Regions from separate parts of the Homo sapiens genome. Here all the other regions are linked to region 2. Evidence: promoter capture Hi-C in 16 types of primary human blood cells and fetal thymus (Javierre and others, 2016). All regions are on one chromosome and are shown on one strand. The core of a region is centred on a gene start or on the middle of the fragment in contact, and the rest is flanking DNA. Distances in the headings are between cores, read along the strand shown. Region 1 overlaps TMEM108 (transmembrane protein 108). Region 2 holds the start of TMEM108 (transmembrane protein 108). Region 3 overlaps NPHP3-AS1 (NPHP3 antisense RNA 1).

The links. Contacts are between HindIII fragments. The CHiCAGO score rates a contact against its expected background, and 5 or more counts as called.
Region 1: a fragment that was not itself captured here is called in contact with the fragment with the promoter of TMEM108 in region 2 in 1 of 17 cell types (megakaryocytes); the score reaches 6.4 in megakaryocytes.
Region 3: a contact is called between a fragment that was not itself captured here and the fragment with the promoter of TMEM108 in region 2, in 1 of 17 cell types (megakaryocytes). The highest score is 6.9, in megakaryocytes.

The regions. Positions count from the first base shown.
Region 1 is chr3:133,298,205-133,300,904 of GRCh38, forward strand. The region is part of intron 3 of TMEM108 (transmembrane protein 108); the gene reads left to right. Among named protein-coding and RNA genes, the nearest start is that of TMEM108-AS1, 42 kb to the left of the region's middle. The HindIII fragment of the contact is 4,368 bases long and covers 1-2,700 here.
Region 2 is chr3:133,037,023-133,039,722 of GRCh38, forward strand. It overlaps TMEM108 (transmembrane protein 108), which reads left to right and starts at 1,369. Exons shown (of 6, transcript NM_023943.4): 1 at 1,369-1,413. RefSeq lists an enhancer at 1,063-1,357. The HindIII fragment of the contact is 5,754 bases long and covers 1-2,700 here.
Region 3 is chr3:132,770,482-132,773,181 of GRCh38, forward strand. The region is part of intron 3 of NPHP3-AS1 (NPHP3 antisense RNA 1); the gene reads left to right. Among named protein-coding and RNA genes, the nearest start is that of NPHP3-ACAD11, 49 kb to the left of the region's middle. The HindIII fragment of the contact is 5,583 bases long and covers 1-2,700 here.

The sequences.
Region 1 (2,700 bases), core at 188-2,687, 260 kb after region 2:
ATTAGTAGGATTCTATTAACTCTCTGGGTAGAGCAGACAACCCTCCCAGCTCTGCCAGAAGGACCAAGTGATTTGTTTCAATCAGAGGCCCAAGAAGAATGTTTCTTCCAGCGCCTTCCTCTTCTAACCCTCTCCAAGCCTCCTCAAAACTTCTTTGACTTACAAAAGCAATACAGAATGTCTGGAAAGCAGAAGATCCTCTCAACCCAATACAACTATGTTTATTTCATCTAGTCCCCTGGTGAATTTTCATATTCGTATTTTACCTAGAGTGCTTGTGATTTTATGGGACTTTTTTCTTGTTTCTTGATAATCATTTGTAAAAGCTGTAAAATTCTTCTTCTAGAACAGGTACCACTTTGTTTATCAAATGCTTGCATAGTGCTTCCTGTGTATCAGGTACATAAATATTATAATAAATATTAATGCAGTTCATTCTCATAATATTTATAAATTCGTTTCACACTCAACCATATTATGCCCATGTTACAGGTGAGGAAACCAAGGCTGAGAGGTTAGGCTACCTGCCCAAGGACACAGAGTTGTGAGTGACAGAGATGGGCGTGTGCTCAGCTGTGCTCATAACCACTATGCTATGCTGGCATTTTATTTAACCACCTTTCTACTGTTTAATATTTAAACTGCTTATAGTTTTTTATAATTATAAAAAACTACAAAGACCATCGGCTGCCTGTGGCATTTTATTCTTCTGGATTATTTGTTTAGGATAGGTTTTCCAAGAGATCTGCCTGCCACACTTGCTGTTTTGAGCTGACAGACAGGGGTGACAGTCTTACATGAATTCCCATTGGGGAAATCTGAACTGTGGGGAGAAGGAACACTTTTTCATGAGTTTGTTAGTGCTTGATTCATGGCCAGTGTAATCTAGGAACAATAAGGGGAAACTATATAAAGCTCACAGTTTAGTGAAAATGAAGGCTTCAGATGTTGGATGATACCTTGCAGCCAGCTAGTGCTCAATTACTGTCTCCTGGTTGACTTGGCAGCCGTAAAGCCACTCTTCAAATAAGAAAAACTGTTTTTATTTATTTCAGTAGGGAAATAAAAACAGAATAGCTCTTTAGTGGCAGATAGATTAACCAACAGTTGAGCTTAGTCTTTCTCCTTCAACCTTGATGTTTTGACATCCTGTAGACAGAAGTTTGGTTTGGAGGTCAAGCCGTGTTCTCTAGAATTTCTGTATAGACGGGGTTGGAGTTGGCAGTCCCTTTGGAAGGAGGTGCTAAGGGGACTTGTTGTGAAGCCGTGTTTGCATGGCAAGCATAGGTTTTCCCTTCTGCAGTACGTTTATATAGAAGATGACTTGGAGCAGAGGAGCTCATGAAGATTATGCCCTCATCATGCTTAAGGTTTTCCAGCTGATGTTGGGCCAAAATTGTCACAGGTCCTGATATCTCACAGGGCATTTCTTTATGTTTTCTCATATATGGCACAGGCCCACTGTTCTTCTTTGCTTAGAATGATATCATAATATCAAAAACTGAAGACAATTTCCATTTGGGAGAGCCAGGCCATCATACGTCTTCAACCCAACACACACACACTCTTCTGGCAGAGGGACGTTCTTCTCCTGGACCATCCCAGTTTTAACAATCATACATCTGTTCCCCATTCTTCCCAATTATAAATGTAATTACCATATCCCATTAGCACATTTTATTAAAACAGTCTTCCTATCACATAGAAGTGATAAATCTGAAAATCAGAGTGGAGAAAAGTGGAATGTCAGAGTAAGAAGAAATAGAAACAGCTGATTTCTACCCCTAAGTGTTCAGGTAAATTGCAGTGAGCCAAAGAGGCCTCAATGAAGTGTGTTAATGGCATAGTTAGAATCGGTAGACTACTTCATTGGTCCACACCTTCCCTTACTCCATAGCTCACTGTATCATTTATCAAGCATTGAAAGCCTCCAAAATGTTTGTTTAAATAAGCAAGAATACCCTGTGGCTGGTATGGGGGGGTGGGTGGTGGTCCTGACCACATTTAAGAATGTAAAATGAGTAAGTAAATAAGACCTGAAAGAGACGGATTAATGTCCGTAGGCAGTATGCAGGATACCTGATGGTGTTGCCTGGCAACCTACAGCCAGTCCTGCAGCAAGAGTCCCAGACAAAGAGGGGAATTGAGGATGTGTTCAGATGAATTAGGTTTATCACCCCACCCCTGTTTTTTTACTTTGGCGGCAACTGGGTAAGGGACCTCTTTTTAAACATGTAGCTGGGATTTGTTTTCATCAGATGTGGTAAGAGTTGCAGACGTGGAAATGACTGTCATGAAGGAAGAAGTTTATACTCAGAAAGATCCCTGGAAAGAGGAGGTACTGCACACCATGCAGTGCCACATGGGGAAGCACCAGGTTTAATGAGGACGCAGAGAGCCTTTTTGTGGTTTTTATAAAAAGAAATGGGTAAGGCAGGGTAACCATGGTAGACAGGTTTAGTTTGAATGATTTTAGTGGGCTCTGGGCTATAGGGATTGTCCCTGGTTGCCAGGTACCTAGCCCTGGAGTGATTAGGGCTGAGGGATAGTGTCCTGGACTGCAAGAGACTGATTAAAGGAGATGGGGGGTGGGAGGTATATGAACTCTGGTTTGGTGGATTTGCACATCAAAGGTGTGCTTGCAGACAAGTTTACTATCTCTAGGAATTATCTAACCCTGGAAGGGTCAACCCCTACCCA
Region 2 (2,700 bases), core at 119-2,618:
ATGAACAATGTCTGAGATTGCTAGGTGGGCTTCACTTCTGGGGATGAGAAGCCAGAGAAGTTCAGGACACACTGACAAAGGTGAAGTTTTCTCTAAGCGACAGTTTGATCACCTTGATAGTGAGAGAGAAATGCTGAAGCAGGGTTATACCACCTGGTTTCAAGAGATGAGAGATGAAGGTTTTGGAGAATTCAGCACTTAAGAATCTTGAACCACGGCGGTACACTACTGGGTAATAAGAGCTTGGCTACGCTGAACGACAAAGGTTCTAGCTGGCCAGTCCGAAAACACTGAGTCCTTAGGTCAAATTTGAGAAATGACAGGGCCAGTGGGAGTCCTAACTTCTAGACTCTGGAATTACTGACAGAAGAATATTTGGACAGTTTTTAAGACCCTCAAGGCATATTATTTTACAACCTCTTTAGCTTATGCCTGAATTTGTGCTGTGACTGTTAGCTTCCCGGATGTTTTCTCCACATGCTTCTTTCTGAACTAGCCTGTATAGTTCTACAACAAATTGTTACGTTTTGAGAAGCAGGGACCACTTATACCACTTCTCTGGCCAAGTGTCTGGCACCGCGCCACTCAGACACACACGCCCAACCCTTTAGGATTAACGTAGACACAGTGTTCTCTTCCATGGCCATTCCGTCTCCACTTCTGGTTCCACACTCCAGTCACCAAGTTGGCATGATTGCTGCTCCATAGACCAAGGGTGGGTAATGTGGGGATTAAACACACCTTCCCTCAGCTGGTGCCCAAACTGTAAGCATCACCGGGACACCCCATGTAGCCACAGGAACGCTTCTCATCAGTGGAAGAAGGACAAGAAAGGTCGTGCAAGTTTCAAATTACGTGGAGCTGGGGCTACAGCCATTACTTTCGGACAGGTGCAATTCAAAGCGTGATCCTCCGACCAAGAGCTTCGTCATCGCCACCTGGGAGCTTATTAGAAATGCAGGATCTCAGGTCTCCACCCCAGACCTTCTGGATCAGAATCCGCATTTTAACAAGAGAGTCAAGTGATTCTTATTTATATTAGAATTTGAGAAGTCAATTGATCTGGTAATTGATCAACTGAGTGCCACTTAGCCCCCGAAAACAGAGACCCTTTGTGCCCGCCTCGCACCCGCTCTGCTAGGTAGCAACCGAACCCCCAGAGACATCGGAGCGGGCGCTGCCGAGGGCAATTTGGTGATTGGCTGGTCTCACCACGTGACCGGCGCTGAGCCTTCCGTGCGACCGGATTGGCTGTCGCGGACGCTGACGGACAAGGCCGGGGCGGGCCAGAGCCTGGTCGGAGGGGCGCGCGCGGGGGCCCGAGGGGCGAAGGCGCGAGTGCGCGAGAGCGCGTGCGCGAGCGGTGGGGCTTTCTCCTGAGCCGTCGGAGGGAGCCGGAGCGCTTCTCCCGAGGTAAGCGGCGCTCCGGGGCGTCCCCCCAGTCCTTCCCATGCTGGGTCCCGGCAAGCGGGTTAGGCTGGGCTGGGCGGGGCTCGGGGAGGTGTGGGGTCAGCTTGCCCCGGGAGCCCAGCTTCAGGGAGGATGCAGCCCCGGTTGCCTTGGTTTCCCTTTTCCTATCCTCTCAGGCACCTTCCCATCCTCCCCACTGCGTGACGGGTCTGCCCGAGGGGAGTTGCCCACCTGGCAGCCCTGCCTCCGCCTTTGTTTCCCGCCTGGAGGGTTGCTGGCATGAACCCCCTCCCCAGGTGGAGGGTGCGGGTGATGGGGCGCGGGCGTCAGGAGCGCTGGACCTGGGCTGGGGCCGAGGAGGAGGTGGCTTTAATGCAGGGGGACCTGTCACATGGGGAAACGAAGAAGAAGAAATGTAGTGTCACTTTGGCCAGCCCGAGGGACTCGAACTAATCCTGCGGCCGCGAGCGGAGCCGAATTCCTAGCGCAGCTGTGCGAAGAGCCCTCCTGCCTAGGTGCCGGCGGCCTCGCCGGGGACGGAGCCTCCGTGCTGCCCGGGAGGTTGCTCTGCCGGCTGGACCTGGCGGTTTTCACCCCAGAGTTGCAGCGAAATTGAACGCTTTGAGCCTGCTGGAGGAATCCAGAGATTGGTTCAGGGGCTATTTTTTTTTTTAAGCAGTTGGGCACCGGTGGAGCCGGTCTAAATGAAAGTCTACAAAAACCAATTTCAGATGCAGCGTAACTGATGACTGGTAAATGGTGAGGAGGGAAATGCCTGCAGTGAACTGCAGACCACCACACTGAGATTCTTCCTTAAGAAGATAGGGGTTTTTTTCGGAGGAAAGGTTGTAGTTTCTGCAAACAGGTTTTTCTGGGGGTACCCAGGAAGGTTATTACTTATTTTCAGCATGTTACTGGGTTGTGGGGAGAGGGAAGGCAGGGTCTAAACTAAACCTACTCACACGTCCTTAATTCTTTGAAAAGTGTGTGCTCGATGAAGACCATTTGGCTGCCAAAAGAGGTTTGTATGGGAGTCCGGGGGAGATGGATTGTTGCCTTTAAATCATACTTTAAAAAGGGGAAGGTATGTCCAGGAACTTAAGAGCAGGTCAAGCTATGGAAAGTATTCCCTGCCTCTCCTCCATTTCCCCAGACAGCTCATAGGCAAACATAAAAAGTCCCTTCAATTTTCCACGGGTTAACTTCTTGATTTGTTGGATACACCTGGTAATCTACTCTGTAAGAAATGGTTCAACTAACTCATTATGAAGATATTACTGTGTTCTGGAC
Region 3 (2,700 bases), core at 107-2,606, 270 kb before region 2:
CACACTGCAATAAGAATAAGCTATACCTATGTATAACAACACTAATGAATCTCATAGACATACGTTGATCAAGAGAAACCCGACACAACAGTGTGCACACATACTCTATAATCCATTATATGATGTTCGAAAAAGGCAAAAGTAATCAATGCAGACAGATGTCAGAATAGTGGTGACCTCTGCTGTCTAGAATGGGGCACAGAGGGGCCTTTTTTGATACTGAAAATGTTTTAAGTCTTAATCTGGGTGGTGTTACACAGGGATATATGAGTGTGAGAAATTGTCAATCTACATACTTTTTTTTAAACATAATTTACTGTATGTATGTTACACCTAAACTTAAAAATAACTTGTCTTTGGATGGTATTTACTATCCAAAGATTTATACATAAGTATTCAGCCTCTAGCCATAATAACCCCAAACTAGAAATTACCCAAATGTGAGTCAGCAAGTGAATGGATAAGCAAACTATTGTACATCTGTACAAAGAACTATTACTTAGCAAGAAAAAGGACTAAACTTTGAAAATGTGGCAGCATAAATGAATCACAAAATCATTATGCTAAGTGAAAAAAGCCAGACATAAAAGATGACACACTATATGATTCCATTTACGTAAAGTTAAGAAAATGTCAAGTAATTTATAGTGACAGGAAGCAGATCAGTGACTGGTTGCCTGGGGTCCAAGGAGGAGGGAGGGGGGAACTGAAAAAAGGCTTGAGAGAATTGTATGTCGGGGGGTGATAAAAATGCTCTGTATTTTGATTGCCTCAGTTGTTTCCCAGGTGTATACATGTCAAAATGCATTAAACTGTACCTTTTGAAGAGATGCAGTTTATTTTCCATGAATTATATCTCAATAAAGCTGGTGAAAATACATATCAAACTAAGAATACTCAAAGTCTTGAGCTTGACCAAAGAGGCCCAGAGAGCACTAGCTCAATAAACTTCAGTTTCCTTCCTAAGACTCCACACCCCAAATAAAATTCAAGTTTCCCTGAGAAGGACATGTGTAAAGGAGAGGAATGGTCCCACTTGCTTTGTTTTGAAGAATGTGGGTTGGGAGTAGAGAGCAAAAATGGATGGGAGAGGAAGACAGGTATCAGTCAGGGTCAGAAGACAGACACCACACCAGTCACTTCAACTACTGTGAACTATGTAATTGAAAAAGCACAAAAGAGAACACAGAGGAGTCAGGGATGTAGCTACTGCGGGATGCAGCTACCTTCATGAAGGTTGGGGAACAGAGGGGAGAGGTTAGAATAATTAAAACTTAGAAACTCAGAGTCTGGTCTTGGGGCCTGAGACCCACACCCCTGACGAGGAGGCCCAGGCTGGCTGGTGCTGGTGTCTCTGAAGGGGCAATGAGGTAGTTTCTCAAGTGTCAGAGAGACTGCAAATTGGATTCTGCTGCTGCTATAGAAAGAAGCTGCTAATGCTGGGGTGAAGAGACATTGCTGGGTGACACTAACAGGAAGAAGAGGCAAACAGGCAAAAGCACATCCTTTCTCCTTCCACCAGCCTTGCTATCTTCCTCCAGTGTCCCCACTGGTAGAGTCCAACAGCTGGGAAACCAAAATGCAGCTTGCAAAGTTCCAGGTCCAGCATCATAAAGTGTAGTATAAAAAGGGGCAACGGGCAGTTTGGAGTTGAGATTGGGCCTCAGACTATTTTGGGTTTAACTCTTGGCTTTGCCTTTTACTCATTGTGGAACCTTGAGCAAGTTACTCAACCTCCCTGGGCCTCAGATCTACAAGAGTAAAACAAAGGTAACATTCCCTTCTAAGTTTATGTTAGTGAGCCTTCAATAAATGGACTCTACTATTTCATTTCTTTGTTTATGTAGCACAAGCTCCCCTCCTCCCCCACCAATGTTCTTTCCTAAATTCTTTCCCAGCATTGTGGCCCAAATTACCTCACCCTTGGGATGGCTCTTCTCTGAGGGGCTTGCCAGTTTCCTCATGAGGAGCCACCAATGGTTTGAGATTCTGAGAACTAGCATGTGGTGGAGTTAGACTGTGGTCTGTGGTGTATCACTTGGATTTCAATCCTGGGGAAGCAGTGAATTAAGCAGCTGGCTTGTGATGCTTTTCTCTCCTTGTACCAGGAGGATACTCCTGGGAGCAAAGAAAGCAAATGGCTGAATGTAATCTTCTTATAAACATGCTTATAATTGACCTTCTGGAAAATAAACTAATGAGATTTGCTAGGAGGAGAGTCCATTTTAGCAGGAATGACCCTGGATTAGAATTGCTTATGGAAAACTAAAGTAGAATCTATGGATTTATAAGGCCTGGCTTCCTGGACAATTTCGTTTAAATCTTATAATGATCTGGGCATAAAATGGAGATGATTTATAACCCCAAGTCTCCCTACTGTATCAAGTAATCTACCAATCTCTTTAGAGACCCTGTCATTGCTCTGGGCCAGAGAATGCATGTCTGTCCCAGAGAGGATGACCTGGGAACCACACTCCATGTACTGGGTCTCTCCCTGCTTCACCTGGGACTCTTGATTAGTCAAGGTTCTCCAGAGAAACAGAACCAATGAAGAGACTTACATACAGATTTATTTTAAGAACTGTCTCATGCCATTATGGAGGCGGGCAATGACAAGTCCCAAGATTTGCAGTCAACAAGCTGGAAATACAGGAGGGCCAATGGGGTAGTTCCAGTCCAAATGCTAGCAGGCTTGGGATC